Linked DNA regions of Homo sapiens: region 2 is linked to region 1. The links are contacts of gene promoters, found by promoter capture Hi-C in human tissues and cell types (Jung and others, 2019). All regions are on one chromosome and are shown on one strand. Each heading gives the region's core, a stretch centred on a gene start or on the middle of the fragment in contact. The rest is flanking DNA. Distances are from core to core; before and after follow the strand shown.

The links. Contacts are between HindIII fragments. The study calls those that stand out against the background at their distance.
Region 2: a contact is called between a fragment that was not itself captured here and the fragment with the promoter of SNX10 in region 1, in 4 of the 25 tissues and cell types used here (hippocampus, pancreas, spleen and 1 more).

Annotation. Positions count from the first base shown.
Region 1 is chr7:26,290,438-26,296,784 of GRCh38, reverse strand. SNX10 (sorting nexin 10) reads right to left here and starts at 4,923. Exons shown (of 7, transcript NM_013322.3): 1 at 4,699-4,923. RefSeq lists an enhancer at 2,889-2,938 and silencers at 4,430-4,509, 4,660-4,899. The HindIII fragment of the contact is 12,028 bases long and covers 1-6,347 here.
Region 2 is chr7:26,357,114-26,363,460 of GRCh38, reverse strand. It overlaps SNX10 (sorting nexin 10), which reads right to left. Exons shown (of 7, transcript NM_013322.3): 3 at 2,400-2,486. Among named protein-coding and RNA genes, the nearest start is that of LINC02981, 38 kb to the left of the region's middle. The HindIII fragment of the contact is 9,864 bases long and covers 1-6,347 here.

The DNA of each region.
Region 1 (6,347 bases), core at 3,674-6,173:
AGCTTCAGCCTCCCAAAGCACTAAGATTACAGGCGTGAGCCACCACGTCCTACCTACCTGATATATTTTGATAGCTGGCTGAACAAGCCTCTCCTCAATATTCTTTTTCAAAAATGTATTGCCTACAAGTACAAATCTATTTTCCAGGTAAGCTTTATTATTATCAGTTTGTAAAATTTAAGTCGTGTTAAAAGTCTGGCCTAAACTATTAAAGGTCTCATTACCTCTTAGGCTTTTCTTATTTTTCTTATTATTAGTATTTCTTTTTAGAGTTGGGGTCTCACTGTGTCACCGAGGCTGGAGTATAGTGGTGAGATCATGGCTCACTGCAGCCTCCAGCTCCTAGGCCCAAGTGATCCTCCTACCTCGACCTCCCAAGAAGCTAGGACTACAGGTGTGTGCCGCCACACCCAGCTTTTGCCCAAGCTGGTCTCAAAGTCTTGACCTCAAGCAATCCTCCCACCTCAGCCTCCTCAGTCACTAAAATTACAGGTGTGAGCCACCAGAACCCAACTCTTTTAGTCTTCTTTTGTCGTTGGAGCATCACCCTTCAGCCAGGAGATGGCTTACTTCCCAGTGAGCCACATACTATGCAAAAATCTCAGACTTCAGGGAATTTGGGGGTTATTTGTATTTATTTATTTATTTATGAGACAGAGTCTAATTCTGTTGTGCAGGCTGCAGTACAATGGTGCAATCACAGCTCACTGCAGCCTCAACCTCCTGGGCTCAAGCGATCCTCCCACCTCAGCCTCTTAAGTAACTGGGACTACAGGCATGCGCCACCACACCCGGCCCAGGGAATTTTGTTTGAATTTCTAAATCTCTTAGCAAAAACTTTCCAATACGACAATTCTACCAAGAGGTCTGAATGGCTGCCTGTGCCTCAACCAATGCATGTCTGCAACATTCCTCTTCTTCTCCCCAAACAGCTTTTCTTTTCCTGGCTCACATCTCTCCGAGTTGTAGATTCCCATACCAAATCAGAGTAAAGTGGCTCAGCTAACAGGATCACATGCCAAACGATGTCGTATTTTGACAGGCACTTCCAGGCAGCTTTGCTGGCCTCATGCATTGGACAGCTTGGTGAGAGAGCTGGGGGTCTCTGGCAATTCGTAATTGATTGATCTGGCACCACTTAATCCACAGGGAACTATCAGGCTATAATGGAAAGAATATGAGACTGGAAGTTCAGGAACCTGAGTTTGAGTCCCGTTTTTACCTCTAATTAGCTGTGTAGTTCAGATTAAGTTATTCTGCCTCTCCATTGGGCCTTGGTAGCCTCATTTGTAAAATGAGATTATTAGAATAAAATGGTGAATAATGACTTTCTTTCCACCATGGGTGACCACGTAAGAATCTGAAGAAAGCTACAGATTCTCTCCCCCAGAATAATGCACTTTTGCAGATGAATATGAAATCAGGCTGGCCACAGTAGCTCACACCTGTAATCCCAGCACTTTGGGAGGCTGAGGTGGGTGGATCACTTGAGCTCAGGAGTTCAAAACCAGCCTGGGCAACATGGCAAAACCCCATCTCTACAAAAGTATCAAAAAAAAAAGTAAAAATGACATCATATATTTGAAAGGGGTTCACAGATCTGATAAAGACTATTTCCCTGTCCCCAGAGGCAAGATCACTGAGGCCTAGCACAAGATTTTAAAAATAACAGAGACTACAATAGAAATACATACTGAATCACAAAGCCTTGAGTAAAGTTGAATCACTTGTAGAACTAAAAGCATCTCTTCTGCAGAAACTGGGAGCAAGGAGTAGTTACTTAGGGAAAAATAAATGTAAGTATCAATAGGAGTTGCCCTTGACTGAAGCCTGGCTAAGCCCTTTACATTCGCAGGTGGGTGGCTGAGAGTTACTACTGATTCCAGACCCAGGCTCCTAGTTCAAATTTTGGCTCTCGCATTACTAGTTGTTTGACCTTGGGCTTTGTGCCTCAGTTTCCACATCTGTAAAAAGAAAGAAGAAGGGGAGAAAAACAATACCTATCTCAAGGGTTGTTAACGTACTTAGGACACTTGTAACAGGGCCTACCACACAGTAAGCCCTAGATAACTATTAGCTTATAACAGAAATCTGACACACATTTGTTGGGTAGTTAAAACTGTAAGCTGAGTTTAGAGAAATCATAAATACTCTGATGGCTTAGTTTCCCCAGAGGTAAACTGAAGACAGTAACAGAATCTGCTTCATAAGTCTGTTGTGATGCTTAATGAGACTGCCACATAAAAACTCTTTCACAATGCCTGGCCCATAATTAAGTGCTCGATAATGTCACGATGCCTGGAATATAGTAAGCACTCGATAAATGTCAGCTGTTGTATTAACAGTTCTGGGAAGCAAAGATTACCATCACCCTTTTTTATTTCTGAATAACAGGCAACTCAGAGAGTGTTAAGTGCCCCGCCAACAAAACTATACTTAGAAAATTATTATACCAAGATTTCAACTCAGATGGGTCTGGAATCACAAGTTCTAACCACTACACTATATACCTTCCTCTTTGAACAGGGCTTAGAGAACAGAAGAGCTAATTCATACCTACCAGATTACTAAGAAAAAGATGTTTGGAGATAACAATGCTAAATTTGGGGGATTCCCCACAGAGTCAACCATGAGCTTGGCCAAAAGCCCTTCTCCGCCATGCTAGGAAATGAAAATCTGCATAGACTGGCCCCTGTTCTCAACCAGTTGTCTGCCTTTCACCAAGTGGTTGTGAAACCACAGCCCTGTCACTAAAAACGGAAAAAAGAAGTTATTTTCCCCAGTAACTTAACGAGCAAAATGAAGCCTTAAAATGAAAGTAGTGATCCTAGGGCTGAGAAAAGATATCCACTGCTCCAAAGCCCAGCAGAATTGCTGTAGAACACCAACGTTACTCTTTGATTAACATACTTTTATTTTTTTTAATGAACGTGCTTATTTCTATTACTTTAGGTTACCTAACTCAGGGGTCCTTCCCATTAGTAAAATAAGAGGAAGTGTGTACCAGCCTGGAGGGGAGACTCCCTGGTGGGGCACAGTGTCAGCCTGAGCAAGTCCCACTGTCAACACTGATGTCCTCCCCAGTTAAATGGTAATCAAAAGTGAGAATGAAATGGACTGGTAGAAGAAACAGGACGACCAGTTGAGTCCATGCTAATCACTGATATTTCACATCTTCACACAGTTTCTTCTAAATGTATTTTATTTTTGTATTTTTATTAAAAACTGCCCTATCAGTCAATCTCAAGTCTACCCTTCCTTTAAAAAATAGTAATAAAAGGCCGAGCGCAGTGGCTCACCCCTGTAATCCTAGCACTTTGGGAGGCCGAGGCAGGTGGATTGCTTGAGCTCAGGACTTCCAGACCTGCCTGGGGCAACATGGCAAAACCCTGTCTCTACAAAAAAAATACCGAAGTTAGCCAGGGGTGTGGTGGCCCGCACCTGTGGTCTCAGCTACTAGGGAGGCTGAGGTGGGAGGATCACTGAAGCCTGGGAGGTGGAGTTTGCAGTGAGCCAAGATCGCACCACTGCAATCCAGCCTGGGTGACAGAATAATACCTTGTCTCAAAAGAAAAAGAAAAAAGTAAATAATATTAAGAATAATGAAGGTCCAGCTATGTACCTACCTTAGGAATAGGCATCACTGGAAGTGATGGCAGAGGCAAGGCAGGAGTCCCTGACCTCACCTCCATTCTCTCACTGAGGAGCCCCTGCAGAAGCTGGTCAACTATCCAAGCAGTCCCTGCTTCTTCCTGGCGAAGGCCTCAGCCTCCAGCCCAGCCCCCTCCTGGGAGAGGAGGGGGAGCTTATGCAATCCAAACCCAGTTCCCAGGCCCCAGAGGTGGACATAACTCCGGGGTGGAAGTCAGAAGCCTGCCAGGTTGTAGGCCTGGTTCTGCTCCCATCTGGCTGAATGATCCTGGTCCCAACACTCAGCGTCCCTCGGCCTTAGCCTCCCTGTCTGTAAAATGAAAGGTTTGATGGAGATCATGTGCAAGCCTCCTCCCCGTTCTAATTTTCTGATACCATCATTTTTAACGTGTCTTGTAGAGATAGAAGCCCTTCCTTTCAGCAGGACATGTTGCTCCCCATTCCGTGACGATCCCCCTCAATAATCCGTGTAATTTGAGAAAAGTATGATGCATCGGAACTGAAAAACAGGCTGTTGCTTTCCTGGTCACCAAATCTGATAATCAGTCAATTATATGGATTTTCCCCTGGGCCTTCTCCCTCAATCCCACAATCCCACGAATAAACCTGCCTACCCCTCCCAATTCCTCAACTCAAGGCTACCCGTTAATGAATGAATAAAAAAATAAATAAATAAATTTTAAAAACCACCTCCCCACCCCCTTCTACCCGGCCTGGTGTAAGGTGCCACAGCACTTCTTCCGTAATCTAGAATCCACCTCTGCCCCACCCTCTCCCCGGGGTGTCTTTTTAGCCAAGAATCCCTGGATCGACGCGCTCCATCTCCCCGCTCTACCGCGCTGATCATTTCTCCCTGCCCGGCACACCTCGGCTGAAAAGGAGGCGGCTCCTCTGCTCCAAGCCCAAGGGACCCAAACCTCTTTCCAGCCCGCAAGGGTGCGGGCACCTGGGAACAGCGGGAAGGGCCCGCGCCTCTGGAAAGAAGGGCCGCCGTCCCCACCTGGGCGGTGCAGGGGAGGCCCCCTCAGCGGGTCTCTTGTCACTTACGGGCGGCTCCTCCGGGCAGAACAGAGCAGGGCCGGGCCGAGCCGGGCTTGCGGGCCGCGGAGTTTGCTGACTCAAAGGCGCGCGGCGGCAGCGGCGGCGGCGAGCGCCCAGGAGCGCACACGAGCGCAGCCCCGCGCTCCCCGCGCTCCCCGCGCTCCCCGCGCACGTAGCGGCCCCGCGCCCGCGCTCAGCGCCAGCCGTCCGCCTGTGGGCGCCGCGCCTAGTGCTTCCGCCGCCTCCGCGCAGCCCAGCCCAGGTGCGCCCCCACCCTGCAGAGCTAGCCTCCTGCTTCCTGAAATTGAGTTAGGGAGGAAATGCCCCCATTAGTCCGGACGTTGAGGCTGGAGGTGCTCCAGCGGCACCCTTCGGAATTCGCCACCTGAGTCACCTTAAGCTTCCTAACCCTGACCCCACAGTTATGGGGAGGATTGCCGATGGGGAGGAGGACGGATAAATAACGTGATAAACAAGAATGGCAGAATGTTCATAGCATCTAGGTGGTGGGCTATGGTGTTTATATAAAATTATTTCAGTTTTTGTCTATGTTTGAAATGTCTCAATAAAACATTTGGGGGGAAAGCTAATGAGATCTGCCAAGGGACCTGACTGAGGAAAGCATTTCCCAAATGGCACCTGAGGCTGGGTCCCCACACCTGTTTGCATGGGAAACCACAATCATCACTTAAACTGCTAATAAGTGACTGAATGACACAGAATAATAAGCATAGCCTAATATTTCATTTTTCAAGCATGAATTTTCCCATTAGATACAGCTTGTCGCTGATCATCCTCCAGGGACCATTCCAGGCCCACCTGAAAACGCATCTGTTCACCACACCTACATTAACTCCCTAACAAAACGTATAAATATACAATGTTGTGTCTTAACATCTTGGATCTTGAAGTTGTATTGCTGAACCCTCAATCACTGGTATTTAATTTCCTAAAATTGCACCCAAGTCATGACACACAAGTGAATGCAACCATGATCACTTTTGAAAATCAAATTAAGCTGGTGTGGTGGCTCACGCTTGTAATCCCAGCACTCTGGGAGGCCGAGGCGGGTGGATTACAAGGTCAGGAGATGGAGACCATCCTGGCTGACATGGTGAAATGCCGTCTCTACTAAAAATACAAAAACTTAGCTGGGCGTGGTGGCGCGCGCCTGTAATCCCAGCTACTCGGGAGGCTGAGGCAGGAGAATAGCTTGAACCCGGGAGGCAGAGGTTGCAGTGAGCCGAGATCATGCCATTGCACTCCAGCCTGGGCGACAGAGCAAGATTCTGTCTCAAAAAAAAAAGAAAGAAAATCAAATTAAAGTGTATTTTTTATATTCTTGTCCCTATGCTCCGCAAAGAAAAACATTGAGTAGAAAACAAAATGCAGCATGTATCTAAGATCCTAAGAGATTCTGTAAAATTAAAATCTTTCTGAACTTATTGTCAAGAGCATGACTTTACAGCTGTAGACAAAGCAGCAACAAACCCTTGGAGAGTCTACTGAAAGTCATTTGAATATCTGTTAGAATTTTGACCCTATTAAGACTGGTAACTTGGGCCGGGCGCGGTGGCTCACGCCTGTAATCCCAGCACTTTGGGAGGCCGAGGCGGGCGGATCACGAGGTCAGGAGATCGAGACCATCCCGGCTA
Region 2 (6,347 bases), core at 2,885-5,384, 67 kb before region 1:
ACAATTCTTTACCCCCAAGATCAGTACTATTTCAAAAATTATTATTCTATCACTTAATATGCCCAGCGATTGTTTTCCTTGGGAAATCTAAGTAATTATGTGCATTAGCTCTCAAACTGTTCTCATGAAATATATGACATGGTTCCTGGTATGCTTATGCTTTGTAAAGTTCAGAAAACTTCAGAATGTAGACAGGTTAAAAGGCTTATCCCCAAGGTAGCCACTGGTCTAAATCCCATTATCTTTAACGATATGGCAGCAAAACCCGCTGGAAGGAGTTTGTGGCAAATAACATCCTGTGGGTGGACTTATAACACACCAGGGCCTCACTCTACTGTGCTCCTTGGGGACTAGGTTTGCAGACCATGTTATACCAGAACTAGTCCCCTAACAAGGCTTGAGCAGGTTATCTTCCCGGTACCCTCTCCCTAAAGAATCCCAGACCACCACAGGGATTCCTGACATCTCACACACAGGCTGGGTCCATTTAAATTCCCTTTAATTTCTCTGCTCACAACCACCATGGTTGTCAATAACTAAAAATCCACCTGGTACCTACACCAGACTAAGGTCGATCCATAAGTCCTTCATTTGCAGGGCAGGTTCAGGGGAGTATTTATGATGGCTACCCAGCTCTAGGGTCTACTAATTTAAAATTCCAAGTAAATGTTAAGATCCCAGAGTTGTGTGACATCATCTCCCTTGAGGTTAATTTAAACAAGTTAAAGACCAGCTTCTCTACCTCCAAAGCTCTATGGGTTAACAACTAAGAGAAGCCAACCAGAACTCCCTAGCTCTGCCATCCACTTTTAATTGTATGACAGGTGGAAGTCTCTTCAAGATTAGAGGATACTGAGATCACTAACTGATTAAGTTCCTCTAATAAATCTATTTGCTTGTTTTTGCTGTCCACCAAGCCAAGGCTTATCCATTGTCAATTTATTAGCATTTCAGAAAAGTGCCAGGACACCATCAAATAGTATTTGTGGAACCCATCATTTCTGGCTCCAGATGGAGATTTCTGAATTTACATCAGGCTATTTATAGAGCAGAGCAGAATCTATACTTTCATTAATTCCTGGGAATAATTAAATTTCATGCCTATCATGAAGTGTGTGATAAGGACGCACAATTTTTTTACAGAAAGTTAGAAGGCAACTAAAACTATTTCATTTTACTTCAAATGCTTATTCTTATATAGTCATAATTTTCCACACAGAATGCAACTCTAGTGTGAGCTTATAAGTAAAACCAAAACAGAATCAAAATACATGGCATATCCTGGAATGGCTTTACAACACAATCAAAAAAGCAGTTCTGAGTTTTTCTTTTATTTTCAAAGTTGGGGAAACTTCAAAGAAAAAAGAGAAGAAAGGAGAATTTAAAAAAAGAAAAGTTCTACAGCTGGTGTTTGGGTGTCCAATATACCAAGTTAGCTATTTACAATGGGAAGATTAAATAATGGCTAAATTTTACTTCACTTGTGCTATGAAGTCACGGATACAATCTGGGTCAATTGCTATGCTCCCCAGTTGAACTAATTTAGTTTGCATCTGATATGCATCTGGTTTAGATGCAAAGAGTATTATCCTCAAAATCGGGGCCAATAAACTACAGCCTGAGGGCCAAATCTGGTCTGACACCTGTCTTTGCACATAAAGTTTTATTGGAATACAATTATGCTCATTCATTTATGCACTGTCTGTGGCTGCTTTTCACCTGCAACAGCAGAAATGAGTAGTCTCGACAGAAACTGTATGGCCCACAAACTGAAGATATTTACTACCTTTACAGAGAAGTTTGCTTACCCTTGTTTAAGATGGTCACAGAAGGCCACACACCACACAACATTTTCAAGAGATTGTGATACAGTAGCATCCACGCAAGGCACATCATTTCTAGTTGCTTACTCGTTACATTAATTACTCAGATTCTAGATAAATTAATCACAATAATTGCACATATCCATTTCCCACCTTCTGATTCTATATATAAAACACCACACATCTCTTTTCCAAAGAACTCTATATCCTCTCAAACTTGAAGGTTATCAGGCATTATATTATCCAGAAATATGCTATAGCAGATCATAAGAAATGCCATTAATGAGCTATAAGTACTCTTTACCCATGCATTTTAGATGCGTGCACATCTTCACATGTGAAGGCAATAAACATTAAAATGTTAATATTAACAAAGGAACAATAAGGGATTCAAATAAGTAATTTTTCAACTTTAGGAACCATCTTACTAGTTCATGTAAGATAAAAGCATTAGTTGTAATCATTCAAATTCAGTTATTTGAATGAGAAAAACTTTTACAAGTGTCAACTTTATCCCATAAAATGTATCCCATAAAAGTCCCTCAAAATTACTATTTCTACTGACTACATACTTACATGAATACATATCTCATAGTCAATGTAAGAATGCCAGAAGTCCTCCTTCTGAATCCTAGGATCTCGAACCCAGACACTTACAAATTCCTGTAATGGCATCATAAACAAAGAAATATTCTTCAGAACTGCAAGTAGGACTGGAAAGAACTGAACAAAACGACTGCACTAAAACAAAACTGAAATGAGCTTTAACCAATGTGGTACTTGTAATCCTTTAAAAAACAAGAAGTAAAGTTAATGAATCAGGCACCACGAGCAAATCTAGAACACACTTTTGCCACATAATGGAATTTTTAAAATAATGCAACACTGAGGTGGGAGCACTTCTGGATAGTTTTACTGGTTATCTGAAGACAAAGTATACTGTAAAACTGATTTTTAATTTTTAATCTTAAATAATTGGTTCAGGTTTTTTTCAAATTTAAAAAGTGATCATTTCTTACTTTCTTCATCTCTCTAAACTGAAACAATGGGCCCTTCTGGGTAAGGTGCTTCCTAGGACACAAATAAGAAAGGCACCAGGCCAAGCAGGGTGGCTCACACCTGTAATCCCAGCACTTTGGAAGGATCTCTTGAGCCCAGGAGTTTGAGACCAGCCTAGGCAACATGGTGAAACCCCATCTCTACAAAAAATACAAAATTAGCCAGGCGCAGTGTGGTGCATGCCTGTAGTCCCAGCTACTCAGGAGGCTGAGGAGGGTGGATCACTTGAGCCCAGGAGGTCAAGGCTACAGTGAGCCTTGATTGTGCCACTGCACTCCAGCCTGGGCAAAAGAGCGAGACCCTGTATCAAAAGAAGAAAAAGAAAGGACACCAAAGCTCATGGGAAAAGTAAGCAAAGAGGGTTGAAGTTGACTTTGTGCATGCATCCCAGCCACATGAGAATAAGCGATAATAACTTATTAATAGAAAGAGGAACACCTTCTTTTACATAATACTTTTCTATTTTTAAAATACATTTCCCCTACATTAAATCATTTCATCTTCATAATACCTTTGTGTTATACATAGAAGTTAGGGATATTAAAAATCATATACAGTAGATAATTTTGTTCTTTTATAAAGATAATAAGAATAGAAAACATGGGGCAAAATTTAAAACAATAGGCCGGGCGCAGTGGCTTACGCCTGTAATCCCAGCACTTTGGGAGGCCGAGGCGGGCAGATCACAAGGTCAAGAGATTGAGCCCATCCTGGCCAACATGGTGAAACACTGTCTCTACTAAAACTACAAAAATCAGCTGGGCGTGGTGGCGTGTGCCTGTAGTCCCAGCTACTTGTGAGGCAGGAGAATCGCTTTAACTCAGGAAGCGGTGGTTGCAGTGAGCCGAGATCGCATCACTGCACTCCAGCCTGGCGACAGAGCAAGTCTCCGTCTCAAAAAAAAAAAAAATTAAAACAATACTTTTTAACAGGTGCTCTTTACTAAATAGGTTTAGTTTAAAAATTTGAAAATGTACAGCAAAAAACTATCATGTTTCACATAAGTTTTTAAGTATAACTTATTTACTCAGTGATCATAAACTTGCTAACTGAGTTTGATTTTAAATATTAGAGCTTTTTGATAAGATTGGGAGTTCAATGCTGGAATTCAGGCATTTCTTATTGCTTGTTGGGGCACATCTGAGAGGCAGGCTATGAACGCTTGAGAGCAGAAGAAAAAGAGAGATCGGGGGCTTTCTGGACAAAGCACCTCCATTGAATCATGCAGATAATTAAATGAGACTCTTCATCATAGAGGATTTTTTTTAATCAAAAAAATACACCACACTCTGAAAATAACTTTTGCCCCTATCAAGTTTCACCTTCTAGGGCAACACTTTGTCCTTGCACTGGAGACTTCTGTCCCACTACTTGTCTTTAGTAGACAGGGATTATGAATTACTGTTCCAAAAAGTCTTCTTTTAAAATATTTTCATTGTGTATTTTTAAAATCATTTAGGGGATAGAATAAGAACAAGATAGGCAGGGCTCACACCTGTAATCCCAGCACTTTGGGAGGCTGAGGCGGGTGGATCACCAGAGGTCGGGTGTTCGAGACCAGCCTGGCCAACATAGTGAAACCCCATCTCTACTAAAAATACAAAAATTAGCTGGGCATGGTGTTGGGCGCCTGTAATCTCAGCTACTCAGGAGGCTGAGGCAGGAAAATTGCTGGAACCCAGGAGGCGGAGGTTGCAGCAAGATCACGCCACTAAATGCACTCCAGCCCGGGCCAACAACAGCAAGACTTGGTCAAAAAAAAAAAAAAAAAAACACAAGATAACACTATAGTGATGCTCTTTGGCCATTATTTCTTTTCTTTTTTCTGTTTTTTGAGATAGGGTCTCACTCTGTCACCCAGACTGGAGTGCAGTGGTACGATCTCAGCTCACTGCAGCCTCAAACTCCAGGGCTAAAATGATCCTCCTACCTTAGCCAACCCCGCCCCCAGTAGCTGGACTACAGGCGGGTGCCACCATGCCCAGCTAATTTTTTAATTTTTTTAGAGATGGGGTCTTGCTATGTTGCCCAGGCTGATTCTGAACTCCTAGGCTCAAGCAACACCCCTGCCTCAGCCTCCCAAAGTGCTGGGATTATAGGCATGAGCCACTGTGCCCCAGCCAGTATTTCTTCTTCTCTATTTCTTTATTTTTTTCATGCGCATTAAGAGACAACCATCATTTCTTAAAAGCACATTCTAAATTATAAGAGGGATTTAAAAACCATTTTTAAACCAAATATCCATAATATCCCCTAATCACAGTGTGATAAAGCAGATTCTGCCCAGGGATGGAAACAGAAGCAAAAATCCAGGTACTCTGCTCTTGGCCTATGCTTTTCACCTCCATCTCTTGTCACCGTGTATGTGTGTGTGTCTCTTAAACTTTTAAATGCACACTCAAAATTCATTGCAGCACTAAGACTCCACATATTGTTTCAATCCTGAAAATCTTTAATTTGGTTGGAGTGCTAAATATCACTATTCTCTTGTGGATGGCAAACTTCTTCCCTCTCTGCATCCTGAAACGTTTCTGTGCCTGAGAGCCAACCCAGGCTGTTGTTCTTTGCACACTATTGCAATTCTAGGGTGACCTCATCCAAACACATTCAACCCCCTCCCATGAGCTGATGGACCCCACCCAAAGCTCCATCCCAGTGCAGGCACCTCTCCCATGGATCCAGCCTCTAGCCTGATCCACCTAGAAGTCCCTTGAGCACGCCATGTCCATACCCTTCCCACAGCATCCTGCTCCCCTTCTCAGTGAAGAGCATCTCCCACCAACCCCAGCTAGAAACCCAGTTCTCCTAGACCCCTCTGTTTGACTCATTCCCCAAATCCACACAGACCAAGTCCTTCATAGTCATTCTCCTTGGAACCACTGACAACTATTCCCTCTGCTACTGCCTTGGTTCAAGGACCTCTTGCCCAACATTAATGCAAGAACTGCTAATTTATTTCGGGGCCCATATCCAGTGCATTCCCCACATGAAGACAAGAATGGCTCCAAAACACGTATCTGATGATGTTGCTTTCCTTCTGAAAATCCTTCAAAGGTTGCCCCATAACCTTCAAGTTCAAACTCCTCAGCTAGCACAATACAGCCTTTCATGATTTTCACTCTGCTTATCTTCAAAGGCTAAGCATAGGTCCCCATAAGCAACATGCCACTTCACACTTCCATGCCTTTAACTAAGCTGTTCTCTGCCTGGATTGCTAGGCCACCCTACTGCCTTTTTTTTTTTTTTTTTTTAATCTTCTCTTTTCTTCTACTATTTTTTGCCAACTCCAATTCATTTTTCAAATGCAACTCGGTCACCACTTTTTCTGGGAACCCTTCTCAGATTCACCCAGTATGACTTATTTGACCCTCCTCTGGGCCCCTAATGTCTCTGGGATTGCCTTGGGCATAGTCCCTACTCACCACATCCTACTGTGCTGTATTGTAATTACCTGTAGGCCTCCTC